Regions from separate parts of the Homo sapiens genome. Here region 1 is linked to region 2. Evidence: promoter capture Hi-C in human tissues and cell types (Jung and others, 2019). All regions are on one chromosome and are shown on one strand. Each heading gives the region's core, a stretch centred on a gene start or on the middle of the fragment in contact. The rest is flanking DNA. Distances are from core to core; before and after follow the strand shown.

The links. The method cuts DNA at HindIII sites, captures the fragments that hold promoters and counts their contacts. A contact is called where the count stands out against the background at its distance.
Region 1: a fragment that was not itself captured here is called in contact with the fragment with the promoter of G6PC2 in region 2 in 1 of the 25 tissues and cell types used here (stomach).

Annotation. Positions count from the first base shown.
Region 1 is chr2:168,765,357-168,769,990 of GRCh38, reverse strand. CERS6 (ceramide synthase 6) reads right to left here. Exons shown (of 10, transcript NM_203463.3): 9 at 4,243-4,399; 10 at 1-481. The coding sequence ends at 329. Among named protein-coding and RNA genes, the nearest start is that of CERS6-AS1, 19 kb to the left of the region's middle. The HindIII fragment of the contact is 4,087 bases long and covers 69-4,155 here.
Region 2 is chr2:168,899,680-168,904,119 of GRCh38, reverse strand. It overlaps G6PC2 (glucose-6-phosphatase catalytic subunit 2), which reads right to left and starts at 2,829. Exons shown (of 5, transcript NM_021176.3): 1 at 2,571-2,829; 2 at 1,566-1,675. The coding sequence starts at 2,788. The HindIII fragment of the contact is 19,052 bases long and covers 1-4,440 here.

The DNA of each region.
Region 1 (4,634 bases), core at 863-3,362, 130 kb after region 2:
GTCATGAGCCCAGTGAGTAAAAGGAGTGAGGAAACCCTCTTTTGTCCACAGATTTACAAATACAAAAAAATAAATAATATTCTAAGACAGTACAAATGCAAATACTGTTCCCTTGTGTCAATTACATACAGCATGCCTACAAAGAGAGAATGGTAATTCTTCTTCATTCACAGACAGGACACATGGCAGTGCACTATTCAAAATGCTTTGATAATCTTAATTTTTGTTTCTGGTGCTGAGATATTATGAAAGGAACTGCATTTGCAACTTATTAAATACTTCCAGGAACAAATAGTTCACTTTGCTTGGGACTTGTAGTTTTGAGTAATTAATCATCCATGGAGCAGGAGCCAGTCAGGAGATACCCGTTGGTACCACTGGTCCCATTGGTGGTTGTCGCAGTGTGGGGATTCTTTCCCGGAGGTTCTGAGTCCTCCTCATCTGAGCTAGACTCAATATCACTTCGATCATCCTTGGACACCTGTGGAGTAGAAGCAGGTGAGTATAACCAGCACCTAAGAAATCATCAAGGTATGGCATGCTAGAAGCACATGCAGTCATACACAAGGGGAAACAGATCCCAATGTTAAAAAACTGAAGAGGATGAGAACATTGCCAGAGCAATAAGTTCCCCTTCATTGGAGAGATAAAATGTAGGCGACAAAGTCATTTATGAAGGAATGTAAGTATCATGGAGGGCTAGACTTCTTGACTTCTTTAAGGTATCTTTCCATATTGAGAACATACTAGACCATGAATCCCACTTGTAATCAAAAAGTAGCATACTGTGTCACTGGAATGGCGTCATAGGAATTTGGTACAAATGGATCAATTTACTCATTGATGATCACATTCTCCTTGAGAATAATTTAAAATCAGCTCTCAATTAACCATAGCAATGGAGATAGTCACTAACTCAGAACACTGAAAAAAAAAAATTCCTATTTGGCTTTTTCATGCATTGTTTTATGATTACATTTCTATTTTTTGTATGCTATAATTAATTAGGAATTTTGTTCTGTATGTCACACAACAAATGACAGCAGGAAGCATTTTTTTTTTCTTTTCTTTTTTTTTTTTTTTTTTGAGTCAGAGTCTTGCTCTGTTGCCCAGGCTGGAGTGCACTGGTGCGATCCAACTCACTGCAACCTCCGCCTCCTGGGTTCAGGCAATTCTCCTGCCTTAGCCTCCCGAGTAGCTAGGATTACAGGCATGAGCCACCATGCCCAGCTAATTTTTGTATTTTTAGTAGAGACAGGGTTTCACTATGTTGGCCAGGCTGGTCTGGAACTCCTGACCTCAGGTGATCCACCTGCCTTGACCTCCCGAAGTGTTGGGATTACAGGTGTGAGACACCGTGCCTGGCCAGGAGGCATCTTAAGAACCTGCTGGGCGGGGTGAAGCTTGAAATATTTCCTGAGGAAAATCCACTGACTAGATCATCAAGAACTGGCTCCCAGCCAGGCGAGGTGGCTCATGCCTATAATCCCAGCACTTTGGGAGCCTGAGGTGGGTGGATCACCTGAGGTCAGGAGTTCAAGGCCAGACTGACCAACATGGAGAAGCCCAGTCTCAACTTAAAAAAAAAAAAAAATTAGCCGGGTGTGGTGGCGCATGTCTGTAATCTCAGCTACTCTGGAGGCTGAGGCAGGAGAATTGCTTGAGCCCAGGAAGTGGAGGTTGCGGTGAGCCAAGATCGCGCCATTGCACTCCAGCCAGAGCAATGAGTGAAACTGTCTTAAAAAAAAAAACAAAACAAAACAAAACAAAAAAAACTGGCTCCCATCCTGCCAAGTCTCTTCAATCCTCCATTCAATCTCACTAAGTCACATGGAGGTCAAAATAAGGTGAGAAGATGTAAATCTATACATTACCATAAACGATGAGAAAAATCCTACTATTTAGCAAGGAAGTAGTTTTTGGGGGAAATTAAGAAAATACTGCTTTTAAGATAAAAATAGTTTGAACCTCCTATTCTGTAAGTCTAAATTATGGTAAGCATTTTTACCCAGAAGGCCTTAAGATTCTTGAGTAACTCATCACTGCTTACTTATATTTTTCAGTGGTGTGACAAAAGAGACCTGGTGGCCTCCCTTCATAGGAATTTTCCCAATCTGGTCCTCCTGTGATTCTCTAGGGGGTGGGCTGGGGAGGTGGCAAAGTCTCCTGGGAGGTATGGCAGAATTAACTGGCGCTTTCCCACATCACATCCTGTCTATGTTACCACTACACTCTAACATGAGAATCCTGGACTCCCTCCACCTCTCCCAACTTGAGAAACTACAGTTCCTGTGGGAGAACGTCCTCTCTCTCAGGTGGGTGGGGTCAGGAGAACTTGAAAGCTGAGAACTACTGCTTTATGCCAACCAGTGGTGATGAAGTAAATATCATAAAAGTGAACCTCACTCCAATACCCGTTGAGATGGGACTGAACTCACACAGGCCATCTCCAAAAAGATTTAAATACTAAGACTCCAAAATGGCTAAAGATAATTGAACTTAAACATTGTGAGTCACAAAGCCAGCATTATAGTAAAGTTCCACTATGTTGTTAAGTCCATTAGTCATAAATAGAAAACTCCAGTTTTACAAAGTGATTAATTTACATTTGCATGCTCAGTCAGATTTTTTAAATTGCACTTAGAAAAATCTATACTTATGTTACCTTCAAAGAAAGGACAATTTAGAATATCTCAAAATAGCCCAGAGGAAAATAACTCATGGTCAAGATGAATCTTACTATCCCAGGTGAGAGCCGCAAGGGCAGCTAAGATATTCTGAAGCCTGAGATCTAGAATAAAATTAATCATCATCTCTCTTCATAAAGTAGAAGGAATAAGTTGAAGAGCAGGCAACAAGTCTGGTAGAAATAGCAATGCAATTAAGGACACAAGTAATCTAAGCAGCATTCTTGCATATTTAGTTATTGTTATCATATTGACAGTTTTGTGCATGTTGATTAAATTTGTATCCAAATGAGGACAAGGAGATTTTAAAATAGAAATACATGTTCATTACAAAGAGTGAGAGGTCACAGAGAAAAATGAACTTTAGCTTCTGAACAATTAATTGATCAAAATAATTAGGATTTCTACTAGAGCTGGTGCTGAGAAGTGGCTTCATAGTACACGACTAGATGCCCCGACTTCCCCTGCAGAACAGGCCAGCCCTGTTGACCTTGATGAGTCAGAGTGGTCAGGTGCTGCCATATGGCCCCAGGCAGGTCAGGCCCACAGCTGATGCTCAGGCCTCCATTCTGCAATGTGTTGATCCTCTCCCCCTCCAACTAGTTCTGTTTCTCCTACTTTACTTTGGTCTATTTCTGTCTTTTAGCCAACACATTAAACCTGGCAAGTACCTGGCAAGCTTTCACACCATCCTGTCAGAGAGGGGGTAGTGAAAGAAATTCTTCTTCTCTGTTGGATCATGCAACATTTAGCAGAATACAAGCTCACACCAAAGGGCCCTAACAGAGCTGTCTCTAGTGTCTCTTGCAGTTCACAGAGCTACAGCTCACATGAAGCCTCTAGACAGTGCCAATAGGTTAGACAGAACAATATGCGTGGAAACAAAAGCATCTGAGTGCCCCTCCAACAGGCAAGAGGCACTCAGGACAGGGATAGAGAGAGAGGAGGAGAAACTTACATGTAAAGGGTTCCACTTCCCAGCCTTCCAGGGTAGCAGAAGGAAGAGAACAAACAAGTAAGAAAATGTCACAGAGAATGATCTGGAAAAGTCTCTGCTCTACACACAGGGTTGGGGCTGAGGCTTAGGAAGCTTTATTCGAATCAACCTCAAGTCCACTTTTAACCAAAAAGATTTAACTAAATCTTGTTGGAAGTCATGAACAGATTTGTTTTTCAGTTTGAAAGAAAGGTTTGTTTAAACCGGCATACAGCACCAAGCGACCCTTCTCATAAAAGGAAAGAAGTGATTAAATTTCTGTTCAGTATAAATATAATCAGAGGAGGTCCAAGGTTGACAGGAAGAGGGAGAGCGAACACAACAAATAATATATTATTAAGTCTAAAATTACAAATGCATATCATTGGGTGCCATCGCCAGCAAAGGAACACTGAAGACTTAAAAAATGAACTAGAAAAGGAAATGACTCAATTTTTGCTCAATTCTGAAGAAATACTACCAATTTTGATGAAATATGGAATAGTAAATAGTTGATCCAGAGAAATTACAAAAACAAAATTTTTTAAGACATATTGGAAAAAGTGAGTTGTAGCTTACCTTGCCTCTTGAAACAGCTTTGCAAGCTATTTTCACAATCAAGTAAGACCAGAAGCAGTTCAACCCTTGTACTAGCAATAGCAGTAGGTTAAAAACCCACCAGGAAGGGTAAGGTCCAACGATCTCCCAGCTTTCAAATAATGTGGTATTTAACACCCTAAGGAAAAGAAGGAGGTGATTAGTGAATGTGGCATTTTCCTTTGCTTTCCAAGGAACTCTAGTCACTGCATTAAAGCACAAGGTCAACAATATCTCCCAACTACCCCCTCTCTGGCAGGATGGTGTGAAAGCTTGCCAGGTACTTAGAAATGTCATTTCCTGAAGAATTACCCTGATGGTGTGACTTTCATTTGGTTTTAGGTTAATTAATATATTTTTCCCTATTCACTTCT
Region 2 (4,440 bases), core at 1,580-4,079:
AAGTAATGGCAAAAACCGCAATTACTTTTGCACCACCCTAATGCTTGTATTGGATCTTCAGTTGGCTTATTTTCCTTGGGCTGAGAAGTCAAACTCTAAAGGATATCATTGCTATGCCAGTGATTTGCTGATTGACTTACAAATGACTGCTGTGTACTAGCAGCTACTTCTATGCCTATCTTGTGGCCACTGCAGTGAGAATCTTTGTTTTAAAACAGAGGATGAGGAGAAGCTATAAAGACGGCATTAATCCTAGCAGAAAAAGCCTTTCTACTTCCAGAATGCCTTTTCCATGCTACTGAATTTTTTATTAGTTTCCTTAAATGTCCTCCTCGATTTTTCACCTGGTAGTTCATTCAAATTAAATACCAGTCTCTTATTTGTTAAACAAAGACAGACCTATTTCTTATCTGCAGGAATTTTCAGAGCCTTTTAAAAACTATGCCTTAAAAAATTGTAAATCTCCCCGAGAGATGCAGTCTTTCTTTCTTTTCTCTCTCTCTCTTTCCAGAAAATGTCTTATAAGGTGGAACACATGCCGGAAAGGACTGGAATTGACCACGATAACATTTCGGTGGTCTCAAATGTTACCCATCCAACCATTCATCCATTTATCACACTTTGGTTTCACAAAGATAAACTATGCATCATCCCTCCCCTGATGGAACACCCAGTCTAGGCAATCGGATATATAAAGAATTAGTTAATATCATTTAGTGTAATAAGCGATATAACAGATGTATGTATACTTCTATGGGAACAAAAAAGACATATTCAGAACACTCATTAAGAATTTACACATTCTCTACTACCCTTTACTCAAAGTTAGTTTCGAAGGATGTCAACTGGCGAGAATGTTATGCTATGTAAAATGATGAGGTACAATATAACACATTCTTATAAATTAAAATGTAATTTTTAAATATATGTTTCAAAAAACTTTTTAAAACAGTCTTAGAATCAACTATCACAATAAAGATTTTATACTCATACAGAATCTTACCTAGAATAAAAAAGAAGTGGCCCAAGAAGCCTACTTGTGTACAGAGAAAAAATATGTTTTAAAGAGATTGTTCTAGGGTTAGAAATAGTCTTTACTGGCTATAGTAACATTGAGAAGTCCTTACCTTTCTTACAGAAGACTTGTCTACTCCTCCCTCATTCGTGAGATACTCGGAAGACCTATAGTAACTTTGAAAGTTGCTTAGCAGCAGATTAACCAACATTTCTAAGATCTTAGTCTAGTTCCTTGAGAATTTGTTCTAGTTAACTGTTTCTTGTTTTAGTATCAAGTCATTATATTCTTCTGAAAAGTAAACACCAAATATTTAATCACTGGGGGAGTTTTCTCCCAATCTACCCTTTCATAAATAACAAAATGGAATTTGAGTATTTTTTTTGCTTTGCTTCCTCATTAGTAATTTTGATTGTTATGAAGTTTTAGCATCCTCACTCATGAGATTTTCTTTACTACCCTATATAATATCAGTTCCTAGATGATAACCCTGTGTAATGATTCTCTATTGGAAGATCTTCAGTAACTGGAGCCTGCTGTAATAGCTTACCTGGACCTGTTTCACATGTAGTAGGGAACTGTTCAAGGCATGGACTTGAGTGATTTGGGTAAATCTGAGTTTCTTGGACCCACCAGTAAGGTCGATGACCAAATAATATCCTGTATTTAAAGAATTATAAACATGCATATATATTTAAATACACAGCTATTATTTAATTGGAGATTAGCAATTCTTTCCTATAAAAAATGACTCAAGCGCAGGGTTAATTGTGAAAGTTCATGATTAAGAGACTTTGAAAAAACTTAGGTCTTGGTCTCTCACACATTATTAAAGGTGGTAGCCATTTGGTATTTTGGCACCCTGGTTTCCCATGAACATGGGGGCTTTTTTCCCTTGCAGGGAATGTCTTATGGGTGCTTTGGATACTTAGACTGGAAATATCAAAATTTGTCCCTAGAATTATCAATTTGTTCATTATCACGCTGCTCATGTAAGTAATTCTTAATCACAGAATATGTGTTACAGGGGTTTGGGAATTACTTATAAGTCATTAAAGTACACATTTCTGGCCTGGCGTGGTGGCTCACACCTGTAATCCCAGCACTTTAGGAAGCCGAAGTCGGTGGATCACCTGAGGTCGGGAGTTAGAGACCAGCCTGACCAACATAGAGAAACCCTGTCTCTACTAAAAATACAAAATTAGCTGGGTGTGGTGGCACATGCCTGTAATCCCAGCTACTCGGGAGGCTGAGGTGAGAGAATTGCTTGAACCTGGGAGGCAGAGGTTGCAGTGAGCCGAGATCACGCCATTGCACTCCATCCTGGGCAACAAGGGCAAAACTCTGTCTCAAAAAAAAAAAAAAAACAAAAACATATATATACATTTCTGTGCCTTTTAAAAGTTCTACTTATGAATCTGGTGTTTCAAGTTACCTGGTATTTTTGAAAGATTTTCCAAGTAAAACGATATACATCTGAAATGTGATCATTATGCCGAAGTCACAAATTTAAGGATAAATCTTAGGAAAAAATGAAATAAAACAGAAATCTTACCATTTAAATATAAGATTTAACCAATCCCCAATGACTGCTACCCATATCATCTTGGTTCCAACTGTCTGATTAAATTGAAAACAAAGTGGAAAATAAATGAAAAAGATATTCCTGGGGTCTCCAACATTGGACATAAAATTTAGAAAAGTGTAGTAAGCTCGGTAGTCCTTCTGCAAATGCTGAATTATGAGCACTCCATTCCTGTGAAGGAAATCCATCTTGAAAAAGAGGCAATTCTAAACATAGAGCAATTGGAGCTGAAGTGCTCTGATTCCCACCGTTTTTATACTGTGCCTTTGTGGCATGTCGAGCCATTACTGCAACATGTGATGCTGACCATCTGTGGAGAGGGCACACCAGCCCTCCTCTGCTGAATAGCTCATCTATTTATGATTTTAATTGGTGGCAAAGAGTGAAGTACATGCTGATCTGTGGCAATTCGAGGGGGAAATTTGGATAGAAACACAATGAATTTCTTATGCAACCTCCCTTTTGTGCGAACAGTTGGATCATGTTTGCTTGAAATTTTTTGTACAGTTCATTTCCTCCAAGGTCAGACATTAGCAATTTCTATGTTTGGTGAAAAGACTTTGCAAATAATTATTGCATGTCAAATAGCCCATAAAGCCCTGCATTTTAATTTAAGATAGGCTGTGGCTCTCTATTTTATTGGGTCTTTGAGGAAAATGGTTGAATAAATATCTGGGTATGAAAAATATATGATATGACAGATTATGTTCTGATCACTGATTTAAAATAAGAATAGTTCAATTTTCTTTATCCAAGAGAATGATAGAATATATATGGAACAGGGAAAGAAATGTGTTGTTTTTTGACTATAAGACAAGAAAGCAGAAATGAAAGTCATTTGGATAATAGAAATGTGTTAGGATCAAATTGTATCTTTTATTAACTAGAGAATACAGTTGAGAGGAATAGGGAATGATTCATGTGACAAAGATAGGAATAGACATCAAAGGGCTTTTGACCAATCAGGAAAATGGTTTGTTGAGAACAGAGTGTTAAACAGAAGTGGAAAGCACCAAACAAATGCTAAGAATGAACAGAAGGGTAGCGCAAAGAGGCTGTGGATCTAAGTCATAGGTCCATAATCTACGGCTGTGGACTATGACTAGACTATAGACCAGGACTCTGGTCCTGGACTATAGACTACGACTGGACCCTGGACTATGGACCAGGGTAGACTGAGAATGAACAGAAGGGTAGCACAAAGAGGCTATGGATCTAAGTCAGAGAGATGTTGGGTTTAGAGAGCTGGATTGTGTCTAGGATTAGTGGGAAAGCAACAAAGCCTCACAAGGTGGCCAGGGATGGATCTAGGTAACCTTACTTGTTATTTTGTCATTCAGATTTTTGTCTTTGCTTACCATGGCCTAAGTAAAGACAAAAGACTTCACTAGAGTCCTTCACAGGCTATAACTATCACTTTGAACTTCTCTTCGAGTTTTGTGTCCCATCATTTAACAGCACCATTGTTACTGGGCTTCAGTGTCTATTGGTACCTTACCTGGAAGAAATGCATTGACTGACCATTAACATCTTTTGGGGTGCTTTTTAAATTGCCATAACTGTGTTCCACCTGAGATCAGTTATATTTCTGGTAATGGAATTTGGGCATTGGTATTATTAAAATACTTCTCAAGTGGTTCCAATGTGGTATAAGGGGCTTAGAATCATTGCACTAAGGCAATTCATATAAGGAATTATCCTTGACTAATTAGAGTCTATGCTTCTGGCTTTTCTTTGTTTTGCATATTCAGGTTCTGTAATTTCCATAATCTCTTTAATGAGCCATGAGGAAGAGCATAACTTCCCTTTATTCTTTTTCTAAAAAGTGTTTGATCTACGT